Regions from separate parts of the Homo sapiens genome. Here regions 1, 3, 4 and 5 are each linked to region 2. The links are contacts of gene promoters, found by promoter capture Hi-C in blood cells and fetal thymus (Javierre and others, 2016). All regions are on one chromosome and are shown on one strand. The core of a region is centred on a gene start or on the middle of the fragment in contact, and the rest is flanking DNA. Distances in the headings are between cores, read along the strand shown. Region 1 overlaps ERBB3 (erb-b2 receptor tyrosine kinase 3). Region 2 holds the start of CTDSP2 (CTD small phosphatase 2). Region 3 overlaps RAB5B (RAB5B, member RAS oncogene family). Region 4 holds the start of LOC124902941 (a long non-coding RNA gene). Region 5 overlaps ATP5F1B (ATP synthase F1 subunit beta).

What was found. Contacts are between HindIII fragments. The CHiCAGO score rates a contact against its expected background, and 5 or more counts as called.
Region 1: a fragment that was not itself captured here is called in contact with the fragment with the promoter of CTDSP2 in region 2 in 1 of 17 cell types (monocytes); the score reaches 5.2 in monocytes.
Region 3: a fragment that was not itself captured here is called in contact with the fragment with the promoter of CTDSP2 in region 2 in 1 of 17 cell types (M0 macrophages); the score reaches 6.3 in M0 macrophages.
Region 4: a fragment that was not itself captured here is called in contact with the fragment with the promoter of CTDSP2 in region 2 in 1 of 17 cell types (non-activated CD4 T cells); the score reaches 5.4 in non-activated CD4 T cells.
Region 5: a fragment that was not itself captured here is called in contact with the fragment with the promoter of CTDSP2 in region 2 in 1 of 17 cell types (fetal thymus); the score reaches 6.5 in fetal thymus.

Annotation. Positions count from the first base shown.
Region 1 is chr12:56,083,098-56,085,797 of GRCh38, reverse strand. ERBB3 (erb-b2 receptor tyrosine kinase 3) reads right to left here. Exons shown (of 28, transcript NM_001982.4): 2 at 1,896-2,047; 3 at 617-803. Among named protein-coding and RNA genes, the nearest start is that of ERBB3, 4.3 kb to the right of the region's middle. The HindIII fragment of the contact is 4,298 bases long and covers 1-2,700 here.
Region 2 is chr12:57,845,282-57,847,981 of GRCh38, reverse strand. CTDSP2 (CTD small phosphatase 2) reads left to right here and starts at 1,253. Exons shown (of 8, transcript NM_005730.4): 1 at 1,253-1,610. The coding sequence starts at 1,547. RefSeq lists silencers at 772-951, 1,022-1,101, 1,112-1,541, 2,132-2,431. The HindIII fragment of the contact is 5,566 bases long and covers 1-2,700 here.
Region 3 is chr12:55,982,992-55,985,691 of GRCh38, reverse strand. All of the region lies in intron 1 of RAB5B (RAB5B, member RAS oncogene family), which reads right to left. Among named protein-coding and RNA genes, the nearest start is that of RAB5B, 10 kb to the right of the region's middle. The HindIII fragment of the contact is 3,145 bases long and covers 1-2,700 here.
Region 4 is chr12:55,921,487-55,924,186 of GRCh38, reverse strand. All of the region lies in intron 1 of PYM1 (PYM1 exon junction complex associated factor), which reads left to right. LOC124902941 (a long non-coding RNA gene) reads left to right here and starts at 416. Exons shown (of 2, transcript XR_007063325.1): 1 at 416-746. The HindIII fragment of the contact is 7,726 bases long and covers 1-2,700 here.
Region 5 is chr12:56,636,212-56,638,911 of GRCh38, reverse strand. It overlaps ATP5F1B (ATP synthase F1 subunit beta), which reads left to right. Exons shown (of 10, transcript NM_001686.4): 10 at 489-737. The coding sequence ends at 589. It also overlaps a transcript of BAZ2A not described here. Among named protein-coding and RNA genes, the nearest start is that of SNORD59B, 6.2 kb to the left of the region's middle. RefSeq lists enhancers at 1,733-2,027, 1,520-2,031, 2,005-2,174. The HindIII fragment of the contact is 1,353 bases long and covers 642-1,994 here.

The sequences.
Region 1 (2,700 bases), core at 128-2,627, 1.8 Mb after region 2:
GCGCCCAGGCTTTTTTTTTTTTTTTTTTTTTTTTTTGAGACGGAGTCTCACTGTCACTTACGCTAGAGTGCAGTGGTGCAATCTCAGCTCACTGCAACCTCCACCTCCCAGGTTCAAGCGAGTCTCCTGCCTCAGCCTCATGAACAGCTGGGATTACAGGTGCGCACCACTATAGCCAGCTAATTTTTTATTTTATTTTATTTTTTTGTATTTTTAGTAGAGACAGGGTTTCGCCATGTTGGCCAGGCTGGTCTCAAACTCCTGATCTCAAGTGATCTGCCCTCCTTGGCCTCCCAAAATGCTGGGATTACAGGTGTAAGCCATCAGGCCTGGCCTCCGGTACACTGTACTTTGAAATTAGAAAAACGGTTAACAGATCCAGCTCTGACTCCAGCCCCACAAGGACACAGGGTTCCTTTCCCTGGAGCAGATGCCCCTAGCTCCCCCTACTGGGGGCCCTCTATTGCTTAGGGAGCAATGGACCTTTAGACAGCGGCCAAGGTGACAGGCACCTTGGAAGAGGCACTTAGAGTGAGCAGTCTTGGGTCATCATCAAGGAGGTACCAGTCTTGGGCTGGCTGAGGGGTGAGGCCAGAAGGAACCATCGGGAACTGACCGGTGAGCTGAGTCAAGCGGAGCTGGCGCAGAGCGTGGCTGGAGTTGGTGTTATAGTTCAACATGACGAAGATGGCAAACTTCCCATCGTAGACCTGGGTCCCTCGCACCACGCGGAGGTTGGGCAATGGTAGAGTAGAGAATTCATTCATGGCCACGAGGACATAGCCTGTCACTTCTCGAATCCACTGTGACAGAGCAGATTATGTAAATGAGAGAGACAACAGGGCAAAATAATCTCAATCTCCTCTCCTCCTTCAGGCATTAAAGACTCTTTAACTGTTTTAATTCTTCCTTCTTTCTTTCCTTTCTTTTTTTCTTTTTTTTAAAATTTGAGACGGAGTTACGCTCTTGTTGCCCAGGCTGGAGTACAATAGTGCGATCTTGGCTCACCACAACCTCCACCTCCCGGGTTCAAGCAATTCTCCTGCCGCAGCCTCCCAAGTAGCTGGGATTACAGGCATGTGCCACTACACCTGGCTAATTTTGTATTTTTAGTAGAGATGTGGTTTTTCCATGTTGGTCAGGCTGGTCTCGAACTCCTGACCTCAGGTGATCCGAGCTTGGCCTTTTTTTTTTTTTTTGGTGAGACAGGGTCTCGCTCTGTTACGAGTGGCACAATCTCGCTCACTGCAGCGTCAAACTCCTGGGCTCAAGCAATCCTCCCACCTCAGCCCTCCAAGTAGCTGGGACTACAGGTGCATGCCACCATACCCAGCTAATTTTTGTATTTTTGTAGAGACAGCGTTTCACCACATTGCCCAGGCTGGTCTTGAACTCCTGACCTCAAGTGATCTGCCTTCCTTGGCCTCCCAAAGTGCTGGGATTACAGGCATGAGCCACTGCACCTGGCCTTAACTCTTGCTAATTCCTATTTGGGAGTAGGGAGTAGACTGTGTCACACTGCTGTGTCACTTCTGGGAGTGAAGACAGGCAGCTTTCTCCTCAAAGTGCCTCATACCAGTAGGGCCCCTTCCTCATCTCCCCAGGTAACCTCTTGGTCCTCAGGTTTCTCTCTGCACTAGTCCCTGCTGACCTTGCACTATCCACAGAACACCACCTGCCCCTGACCCTGCCCCCTATATATCCCTGGCTACAACAGTGAGACCATAGGTCCCAGATGACAGCCACTGTCCCCATAAATACACGGTTTTGAATCTTAGGAACTCCTGAGTCTTAGGAAGGGTGAACTCCAGCAGAAGGTAGCCCTGAAGAAGGAAGGAGGGTTCTAGGGGAGAATAAAGAGGAGCAGGTTGAGGAAGGAGGGTGGGCTCACTAACCTGCAGGAAGGAGAGGTCGGCATTGTGTCCCGTGAGCACAATCTCAAGGTTCCCCATCACCACCTCACACCTCTCGTAGAGCTTGTACAGTGTCTGGTATTGGTTCTCAGCATCGCCGGTCACACTCAGGCCATTCAGAGTCCCAGGACACACTGTTCAAAGCAGAGGGAAGAGTGGCTGAGGGCTGGACACAAATTCTCAGCCCATCTGCCATCCCCAAAGATCACCCCCTTGGTTGCCCTCTTCCAGTTACATTAGACAGGATCAGATGGCATTTGCCTCCAACCCTCCCACAAGCGATAGGCAGAAGCTGTAGTGGCCTGAGAGCTTTCTCTCTTCTCAGAATCCCCTTACCATTCCATGAATGGGAAGGTGAAAAGATTTCCTTTTTCAACCTGGGACCCCTCTGTGCTTCTTTTGGGTACTAAGGGGTTAACTGAGAAGGAAGACAGGGAATTTGTTTCTCTCCCTAGAAAAGAGAAGTTAGGAAAAGGCCGCAACTTTGATTACCCTCCTCTCCCCCTCCAACTAGGGCACTCACTTCTCTACCCTCATCCTGCCTCTCTCTAGGTCCTGGAATAAATATCTCTTTGGGACTAGTACACAGCCCCTATTGTGTCTACTGAGGGTGGGATGGGGGCAGAGGGTGGGGGCAGTGCCTGGGGCCACAGTCCAGCCCACAATGAGGCGATTCTATCCAGGAGGGGGGCTGCCCCACCCTGTCCCTAGACACCCCGTCCTCAGCAGCACTCCCCTCCACCCTCAAGCCTTGGGCTCAGACAAGTGACCTCAGTAGAGGGGGGAG
Region 2 (2,700 bases), core at 4-2,503:
GAGAGACCTCCATCCATCTAAAGGAAGCTGGGACTGTGGGGGCAAAAAGAGAGGGGTAGGATGAGGGAGGTAGGGAGGAGGGGCGGAGTCGGGGCCGCCTAAATGGGAGTAAGTCGGTGGGTGTGAGGAAAGCCCAGCACCTCAGGTCTCATTTTCAGTGTTTTGGGGGACACAGTCCCGAGGTCAGTTCCAGCTCTTATACTCTGGAGTCCTAGGTCCGCCCACACGCACACACCCCTTTCGGGATTCGAAGGTTGTACTTTTTTTTTTTTTTTTTTGAGACAGAGTCTCGCTCTGTCGCCCAGGCTGGAGTGCAGTGGCGCGATCTCGGCTACCTGCAATCTCCGCCTCCCGGGTTCAAGCAAGTCTTTGCCTCAGCCTCCCGAGTAGCTGGGATTACAGGCGCCCGCCACCACGCCCGGCTAATTTTTTTGTATTTTTAGTAGAGACGGGGTTTCACCATCTTGGCCAGGCTGGTCTTGAACTCCTGACCTCGTGATCCACCCACCTCGGCCTTCCAAAGTGCTGGGATTACAGGCGTGAGCCACCGCGCCTGGCCTCGACGGTTGTACTTTTATGTGACTTGGTACGTCCTTGATTCTAGGGCTAAGCAGGGGGGTAAGGTAACTTCCGATCCGCCCCATCCCCTGCTGGAGTCAGGTTAGGCTTAGCGGCTTGTCTTGGTCACCCCTGAAGGGGGAAACCTTTCCACCTTCCCCGAGTGCGCCCTCCGAGAAAAGAACACCCCAGCACAGAGCACCAGAACGTGAGCTTCGGAGCGGCCTTTTAAATAGTTGGGAAGGGGGTGTGGCCGAGGAGACTGGGAGGCCGCAGTCTGGCGCGGGGGGAGTGGCCCGGGGGCGTGGCCGTGGCGCCTGGAATGTTGTTAGGTCCTCTCACCGCATAGTAAGGAGGGGCCACGCCCCTTTTCTCCAAGAGAGCCAATCGGAGCACCGGAACGGTTTCAAGTCTCCCCCGCCAGCCTGCCCGCCCGCCACCCCACCCCCCTTGAGGATTCGCTTTTTCCGTAACAAAATAGCAAAGCTCCCGACTGTCCGCAGCCCCGGCCGCTCACAGATGGAGGGTCCCAGGGCCTAGGACGCAGCCCCCAGCGGGAAGCTCCAGCTGGCCGTGAAGAGGCCGAGTCGAGAGCCGGGAGGCGCGCGGGGGTGGGCGCTGCAGCCGCGGGTTGTTTATCTGGAGTACGGAGGGGAGGGGGGAGCCTGGAAACCGCCCCGTGTCCCATTTCCTCCTCTTGTTTTCGCTCCGGATTCTCCATGTTGGACCCAAACTGAGGAGCCCGGAGCTGCCGCTGGGGGATCGGGGCCGGGGGCACCCGGGGGAGCCGCTGCCCGGGCCGCCCGCCCTTTGTACAGGCCGCCTCCCTTCCCGGTCCGGGGAGGAAACGAGAGGGGGGATGTGAACAGCTGTGGAAGTCGGAGTCTCGGGAGCCGGAGCGGGCCCCCGCCCAGGCCCCCCAGCCCAGCCCAGCCCGCGCGCCCGCCCGTCCTCCCGCCCAGCCAGCCCGGGCCCGCGGGATTGTTAGATGGAACACGGCTCCATCATCACCCAGGCGCGGAGGGAAGACGCCCTGGTGCTCACCAAGCAAGGTAGGGGCAGCAACTTCCCAAAACTTTGCGTCGCCCCCGGGCGCGGAGGGGGCTAGCACAGCCCCGAACCCAGGTCTCGGCCCTTGACCTCCAGGGCTTAGAGCCAGCGATCCCGACTGGACCCCTCCGGTCCATCCGCCCCCGCATCCCGGCTGGCACTCAGACCTCCGTGGGGGTTGCACGGGGATCCCGGCGCCCGAGCGGAAAGGGCGTCTTCGGCGCAGCTGTCACCCTGTCCCGCAACCCCTCCCCCTCGGGGCTGAGAGACGGAGGGGTAGCTCTCGAAGCACTGGGCCACTCCGCGTCCACCGCCTCCGGAGTTGGGGGTGGGGTCGTCACTTTCCTTCACCGCCGCGCGCGGCTGCCCCGGGATCGCGGGGAGGGGTTAGGAAGGTGACAGAGGGAGCCCCAGGTGGAACGGAACCGAGACTGGAGTCCAGCACTTGCAGGCCCCCCCAAGCCCGAGGTCGTTCGGGCAGCTAGCTGGCGGTGACGGCGTCCGGCGGGACTTGGGACCAAGTTCACCTCTTGGAGGCGGGGGCGGTCGCGGTGGGGGAGGGGCCCGGGCCCTGGCGCACCAGACGTGGCGGGTTCCCGGCTCAGCGCAGGCCCCGGGACCTTGGCGGCGTCGGGCTCCCTCCCGGCTGCCTCTGACCAGTTTCGCTGAGCAAACAAGCCCGACCCTGAGGCCCGGCCAGAGCCCCTCCCTGCCCGGTGCGCTCCCCCGGGGCCGGCGCTGCACACACAGAGCCGCGTTTGTTTAGCCCGGGAGCGGTGTCCCTGGTTACATAATTCGCCGGATGGCATCAGACCCGGCGTGGTTCTGAATCGCGCAGCGAAAAAGTGCGAGTTCTCTGTGGGCAGCGGCTGGCGGCCCCCGCCTTCCAGAGCGTCAGGTGGAGGCGCGAGGGGGCCCGCAGGCCCTCGCGGGGGTGAGGCGGAGGCCGAGGCCTCTCCCGGGGCGGGAGAAAGCTGGGGCCCGAGGGTGGAACCTCTTAGTTTGGTCACAGTGGGAGACTCGAAACTCTTTCCCCCTCCGCCACGTTCTTCTTTTGGCCTTGAGGAATGTGTCCAAAATAGCGGCAGATTT
Region 3 (2,700 bases), core at 178-2,677, 1.9 Mb after region 2:
GGTATAGGGCGTTAAGTCTGCAAGCAATCAGTATTTGATGAAAGAATACACTGAATCAGCTCCTCTATCTTCTAAGAGGGCTAAGAAAGCTGCTGGTGGGGCAGGGAACAGAGAGAAGAGTTGGGACTTTGAGATTCTAATCGTCTAAATCTGAATACATTTCATCATCCTGACTCTGAGCGGAAAGGAACTATGAAATTCAAAGGGAAGTTAGCATAGGCAGAGCATGCAAAAACCTCTCTCCCAAACCTAAGCATTGCTTGAGAGTTGTACTTTGCTTGTTCAAATTACTCTTTCGCTTTTCCAAAGCAGATCCTAGTGACTTCACAGACATCATACTCTATGGCATATGTGGGGAAACATCATTATTTTGTCACCACAATTAGTGGGACTGGAGTTAAACTGGGGTTAAAAATTTTCAGTAACCCCACTTACTAGATCGTAAAGACAGAAAATCATACAGGAGGCAATTCAGAGGAATAAAGGCTCTGGAGTCCAATTCTCCACGTTTGTTTTTCAGCTCTACTTACTAGCTATGAACCTTGAGCAAGTCACTAAATATATGTGTGCATTCATTTCCTCATCTGTAAAATGAGATAATAGCCTTATAAGCACCTACTTCATAAGGGTGTTGTAAGGATTAAATGAGATAATGCATATAAATAACTAAAGTATTTTAAGTATTTGATAGATACTAAGTGCTAAATAAATATTAAGCTACTAATCATTACTAATATGATATAAAGAGAATTTCTCTACCTCTCTAAGCCTTACCTTCTACCTTTGTAAAATGGAAAAAATACCATCCTCATAGCTACAAATAATAAGTGAAAGATGTGTTTAGCATAGTGCTAATAGCTATTAAAATATATCTCAATATTAGTTGTTATCAATATATTCCTAAAAAGCAGCCACAGCCTGGGTGCAGTAGCTCATACCTATAATCCCAGCACTTTGGGAGGCTGAGGTGGATCACCTGAGGTCAGAAGTTCGAGCCCTGCCTGGCCAACATGGTGAAACCCCGTCTCCACTAAAAATACAAAAAAAATTAGCTGGGTGTGGTGGTGCATACCTGTAATCCCAGCTACTCCAGAGGCTGAGGCAGGAGAATCGCTTAAACCCAGAAGGTAGAGGGTGCACTGAGCTGATGCGCCACTGTGCTCCAGCCTGGGTGACAGAGCGAGACTCCGTCTCAAAAAATAAAAGGCGGGCACAGTGGCTCACGCCTGTAATCCCAGCACTTTGGGAGGCAAAGGCAGGCAGATCAGGAGGTCAGGAGTTTGAGACAAGCCTGGCAAACATGGTGAAACCCCGTCTCTACTAAAAATACAAAAATTAGCTGGGCGTGGTGGCGCGTGCCTGTAGTCCCAGCTACTTGGGAGGTTGAGGCAGGTGAACTGCTTGAACTTGTGAGGTGGAGGTTGCAGTGAGCTGAGATTGCACCACTGTACTCCAGCCTGGCGACAGAGCAACAGCGAGACTCAGTCTAAAAAAAAAAAAAAAAAATTAGCCGGGTGTGGTTGGTGGCCGGCATTTGTAATCCTACTCGGGAGGCTGAGGCAGAACTGCTTAAACCCGGGAGGCGGAGGTTGCAGTGAGCCGAGATCGTGCCACCACACTCCAGCCTGGGTAACAGAGCAAGACTCCACCTGGGGTGGGTAGGGGGGAGATCGGGGGCAGGGAAGAAGCCACAATATGAAAGTGGTACAGAGAAAGAAAAAGAGAAAAAACAGGCCTGGCAGAGCGGCCCATGCCTGTAATCCCAGGGGTTTGGGAGATAAAAGGGGAAGCCTTGCTTGAGGTGAGGAGTTTGAGACCAGCCTAGGCAACATAGCGAGACTGAGTCTCTAGAAAACATTTAAAAAAATTAGCTGGGCATGGTGGTATGTGCCTGTAATCCCAGCTACTCCAGAGGCTGTGGTGGGAGAATCACTGGAGCCCAGGAGTTGAAGGTTGTAGTGAGCTGATTACACCACTGCACTCCAGCCTGGGCGACAGAACAAGACGCTATCTCTGGAAAAAAAAAAAAAAAAAAAAGGAGACATAACTAAAGGGTAAAGAGGAAGTTAGCAAAAGAATGAGAGGTGAGAACTCAAGGTCCCAAAGTAGACTAGATTAATACAGAGGAACATGACAATTACTTTGATTCTACTGGGTATTCTGTAGTCCCCTTGGTCAGTCAGTCTTAAAAATTCAGATATACATGTACCATTTTATGATTAAGTTTTCAATGGCCTATGACGAAAGGATCAAAATAAAGATGATACAGCAAATTTTTCATAAAGCTAAATTTATTCAATTTAAATGAGTATCTTTAATTATAACATTTTAAAATTTATTTTCCATTTTTAGAGAGAGTCTCACTCTGGTGTTTGAGAGGTCAGGAGTTTGAGACCAGCCTGGCCAACATATAGTGAAACCCCGTCTCTACTAAAAAATACAAAAATTAGCTGGGTGTAGCGCCACATGCCTGTAGTCCCAGCTACTTGGGAAGCTGAGGCAGGAGAATCGCTTGAACCCAGAGGGCGGAGGTTGCAGTGAGCTGAGATTATGCCACTGTACTCCAGCCTGGGCAACAGAGCAAGACTCCGTCTCTCAAAATAAAAAATAAATAAAAGAGAAGACAGGTGACACCATAATAAAAAAAAAAGGACAGATGATAAGCTGATCAAGTTTCCTTCAGGTGACATATATATGCTA
Region 4 (2,700 bases), core at 156-2,655, 1.9 Mb after region 2:
AACCTGACCAAAACCAGTATCAGTTTTTCCATCACTATTTCTGTTAAAGGCACCATTATTCTAGCCAACCCAAGGTAAACTTTTGTATCGTTTCTTTTTTTTTTTTTCTTTGAGACAGAGTCTCACTCTGTCGCCCAGGCTGGAGTGCAGTAGCGCGATCTCGGCTCACTGCAACCTCCGCCTCCCTGGTTCAAGTGATTCTTCTGCCTCAGCCTCCTGAGTAGCTGGGATTACAGGCACATGTCACCACGCTTGGCTAATTTTTGTATTGTTAGTAGAGACAGGGTTTCATCATATTGGTCAGGTTGGCCTCGAACTCCTGACCTCGTGATCTGCCAGCCTTGGCCTCCCAAAGTGCTGGGATTACAGGCATGAGTCACCACGCCTAGCCATTTCTTTTTTTAATATTCTAAATATACTTGATTTTTTAGAACACTTTTAGATTTATAGAAAAATTGAGAAGATGCTACAGAGATTTCCCATATACCCTACACTCAGTTTCCCCATTACTGTCATCTTACGTTAATATAGTACTTTGCTTGCAATTAATGAAGCAATATTGATATATTACTATTAACTAGAATCCATACATCATTTCATTAGTTTTGTTTTTTTTTTTTTTCAGACAGGGTCTTGCTCTGTCACCCAGGCTGGAGTGCAGTGGTGCAATCACCATTTACTGTAGTCTTAACTTCTGGGCTCAAGTGATCCTCACATCTCAACCTACTGAGTAGCTGGGACTACAGGTACACACCACCACGCCTGGCTAATTTTTGTATTTTTTGTAGAAATGCGGTCTTGCTCTGTTGCCCAGTCTGATCTCAAATTCCTGGGCTCAAGCAATCCTCACGCCCTGGCCTCCCAAAGTGCTAGAATTACAGGTGTGAACCACCATGCCTGGCTGATTTCCTTAGTTTTTACTTAATTTATTTTTATATTTATTTATTTATTACTATTTTTTTGAGACGGAGTTCTGCTCTTGTTGCCCAGGCTGGAGTGCAATGGTGAGATCTCAGCTCACCGCAACCTCTGCCTCCCGGGTTCAAGTGATTCTCCTGCCTCAGCCTCCTGGGTAGCTGGGATTACAGGCATGTGCCACCATGCCCGGCTAATTTTGTATTTTTAGTAGAGATGGGTTTCTCCATGTTGGTCAGGTTGGTCTCAAACTCCTGACCTCGGGTGATCTGCCCACCTCGGCCTCCCAAAGTGCTGGGATTACAGGTGTGAGCCACTGCGCCCAGCCTTTTTACCTAATTTTTTTTTGTTGTTCCAGGATCTTATCCAGGGTACTACATAACATTTAGTTCTCATGTCTCTTTAAGCTCCTCTTGGCTGTGACATTTTCTCAGGCTTTCCTTGTTTTCCATGACCTTGAGTTTTGAGGAGTACTGGTCAGGTATTTTGTAGGATATCCTTCTATTGGAATTTGTCTGATGTATTTCTCATGATTAGATTTGGGTTATGTGTTTTGGGGAGGAAGACCACAGAGGTAAAGTGACATTTTCATCACATTGTATCAGGGTACATAGTATCACAATGATTTTTTACTGTTAATATTTTTGTTTTTTTGAGACAGGGTCTTCCCTCTGTTGCCCAGACTGGAGTGCGGTGATGCCATCATGGCTCACTGAAATCTTGACCTCCCAGTCTCAATTGATCCTCCCACCTCAGCCTCCTGAGTATCTAGGACCACAGGCGTGTGCTATCATGACCAGCTAATTTTTTTTTTTTTTTTTTTTTTGGTAAAGATGGTCTCACTATGTTGCCTGGGCTGGTCTTGAACTCCTGAGCTCAAGGTATTGTTCCCCTTTGGCCTACCAAAATTCTGGGATTACTAGGCATGAGTCACTATGCCCAGCCTGTTAGTATTGACCGTGATCATCTGGCAGAGATATTGTTTGTAAGGCTTCACTGTAAAGTTAGGCTTTACCCCCTTCCTTTCCATACTGTAGGGAAGTCACTATTGCCAGCCCACGCATAAGGAGTAGAGAGTTGTGCTCTCCTTAAAAAAAGAGATTAAGGGCTGGGCATGGTGGCATATGCCTGTAATCCCAGCACTTTGGGAGGCTGAGGCTGGAGGATTGCTTGAGGCCATCCTAAGCAACATAGCAAGACCTCTTATCTACAAAAAGATTTAAAAAAAAAACGAGCTGGGTAAGGTGGCACACACCTGTGGTCCCAGCTACTCAGGGAGCCTCAGAGGGGAAGATTGAGCCAGGGAGGCTGAGGCTGCATTGAGCCGTGATTGTGCCACTGTACTCCATCCTCAGTGAGAGGCTGTCTCAAAAAACAATTAAAAAAACACACTATTTGGCATTTTTCTGCCCAGGAGATTTTTTTCTTTTCCTTTATTAATTTATGTATATCAATATGGACTTATAGATGTGTATTTTATATGTTAGGTTATAATCCAATACTATTTTATTTGCTTTATTGCTCAAATGTTCCAGTTTTGAACATTGGGAACTCTTTTAGTTTTTTACTTGGCCCATCTCCCTTTGACATTTGCCATCATTGCAGGTATGATTTTGTTCTCTGCTCCAGTCCTGCGGTCTGCCATTTCTCCAAGAAGCCCTTGTTCTTTTTACTAAAGAGTAATGTTAAAAACTAAGATCTGATCACTAGGTGTTTTTATTTCTATGGGAGTATTTTTTTTTATTTATGGGAGTTTTATTTTTTTATGATTATTTTTATTATCAT
Region 5 (2,700 bases), core at 69-2,568, 1.2 Mb after region 2:
TTATTTTATATGTATTTTTTGAGACTGAGTCTCTGTCGCCCAGGCTGGAGTACACTGGTGCAATCTTGGCTCACTGCAACCTCCACCTGCCGGGTTCAAGTGATTCTCCAGCCTCAACCATCCAAGTAGCTGGGATTACAGGCACACGCCACCACGCCTGGCTAATTTTTGTATTTTTAGTAGCCATGGGGTTTCACCATGTTGGCTGGGCTTGTCTCGAACTCCTGACCTTAGGTGATCCGCCTGCCTTGGCCTCCCAAAGTGCTGGGATTACAGGTGTAAGCCACCGTGCCTGGCCCATGTGTTCTTAATTCATACTGTATCATATCTTGTAAATTTGATTTGTGAGGGAAATTTAAGCTTTCTAAGATGACATGAATTCATCACATTCTAACTGATGGCCTGAAGTGGTGAGGAATGTTACATGATGCAGAAAGTTGATATCCCTCCGCTTCTTACTCTTTTTTTTTTTCTCCCCCATCATACAGGTGAATATGACCATCTCCCAGAACAGGCCTTCTATATGGTGGGACCCATTGAAGAAGCTGTGGCAAAAGCTGATAAGCTGGCTGAAGAGCATTCATCGTGAGGGGTCTTTGTCCTCTGTACTGTCTCTCTCCTTGCCCCTAACCCAAAAAGCTTCATTTTTCTGTGTAGGCTGCACAAGAGCCTTGATTGAAGATATATTCTTTCTGAACAGTATTTAAGGTTTCCAATAAAATGTACACCCCTCAGAATTTGTCTGATTCTCTTGGTTCTGACAACATAGTCAACACTGAAGGGTTATGTATTTAATTTTAGTTTTAGAGACACGGTGTCTGGCTGTGTTGCCAAGACTGGTCTCTAACTCCTGGGCTCGAGATCTCCCACCTCAGTCTCCTGAGTAGCTGGGGCTACAGGTGTATGTAGTCTCACATCACCAGCACTGTTTTCAACAATTAGATTTTTAGAGTGGCTATAAGAAGCAGTTTCAGCATGAAGTGGGCCATGTATGTTTGAAATTGGTCCTTAAAAATAGCCATTCTCTTTTGTTGATGGACAACCGTACCTCTTGTGAGGGGTTTCCTGTGGGTAGTGTGATCTTAGTAGGGCCTCAGTTTTGGGCCTTTTGTTCAATACAAATTGATTTTTTTTTTTTTTTGGCCTCTATTCCATGTGGCACATCCCTACTTCTTGGTTAAAAATAGGACTTTTTTGAAGGGCATATTGGGAAAAACTCGTTTTAGAAATAACTTATTTCCAGGGGTTAATCTGAGTTTAATGAATTAAATTTTCAAGAAATAGTGATGAAGAATACTGATCTTTGTTAAAATGGAATCAAAAGGGTTCTCTACATCTTGGTTAGGCCTTCATGTCTTCAGAAAGTGTACTTAACTACTTCCTGACATTTTGGGCAAGCCTAAATAAAAGTTGCTTGTGATTCCTTGAGGCTATGCAGAGGCATATAATACCATAAGGCCTAGTCCACCCTCTGTGAAGATCCCCTTATGAAAGTCCAGAAAAGATAATCTTACAAGGGAATAGCAATTTTCAGAGTTGCTGGCTTGGGCTTCTAAACTAATGAAGTTAGGTTATTTTCCCTTCATTTTAGCCGACTGAGAGGTGCAGGGGTAGAAGATATATTTTACCATTTCAATTTAAAAGAAGCGTGCAAGGTCAGATTGGGTTCCTCTTGTGTTCTTTTCCGGGACCAGACCCATCCGACTGCCCTCTCGCGGTAGCACTGGAGACTCTGCAAGAACTCTGATCCCATTTTCAAATCCATGAAGGCCATTTGCTGGGATGTGGCTCTCAGTTAAAGACTGTTTACAGACCAGCTGGGGCTTTTGTCCTGGGGAGGAGCCTGTATCTATAAGCTCCACCCGCTGAGTCCATCAAGTTAGGTAGAAGCTGGGCGGGGACAAGCTGAGCTCCAATTCAGAGGCCCCTGGGGGCTGAAGGTTGGGGAGGGCTTTTTGGCGCGGGGCCAGGGGTGGAGTAGGGGCCTCTAAGCTTCCTTCCATCTGCCTGTGACGTCCTTGGCAGCAGCCTCTCCCGCAGTCTCTCCTGTGTCATGATCTGGACAGAAGGTGGAGCCCCTGAGCTGCTTGTGCTGGTAGTTTGCTCCCAGAAAAGCTGGGATTTGGGGAAATGCTGAGTTATGGGGGTGTGGACACTTCCTCTAGGTCCTGACTCTGGAGTGGGTAAGAAGCTGGTAGAAAAAGCCCTAGGGTACAGGTCAGCCCTTTCTGCTTTGTTTTCTCACGTCACCCGATACAGACCTGGGAACTGAAATCCTAAAGGTCTTTTGCATCCCTCCACCCCTTCCCCCAACATGTTCACGTCCTTCAGCGTTTATCGAGAACCTTCTCCCTCTCAGTAGCTGCAACTATTTGTTTCCTTCCCCCTTTGCCGGCCTCTTCTACCATGCCACTGGAGTGTCAACACAGCTCTCTAACCTTCCTCCATATTTCTCCTGGTCTGCCCTGTCCTCGCCTCCTCCCTCTCTCCACCCAGAGAAAGCCCCGCCCTTCCCTCCTCCCTCCCCACCCCAGTCTGTCACACAGGGACATCACCCTACAGCAGTTCAGGCTGTGTGGTTCGCAGGAAGCATACACTGGCTTTTTGATTCTTGCTAGTTCCCAGCTCACAGTTTGGGAGGATCCAACACCAACCTTTACGTGAAGTGGAGGCCCAAGGACAGTGAGGAGCTGGGTGGTC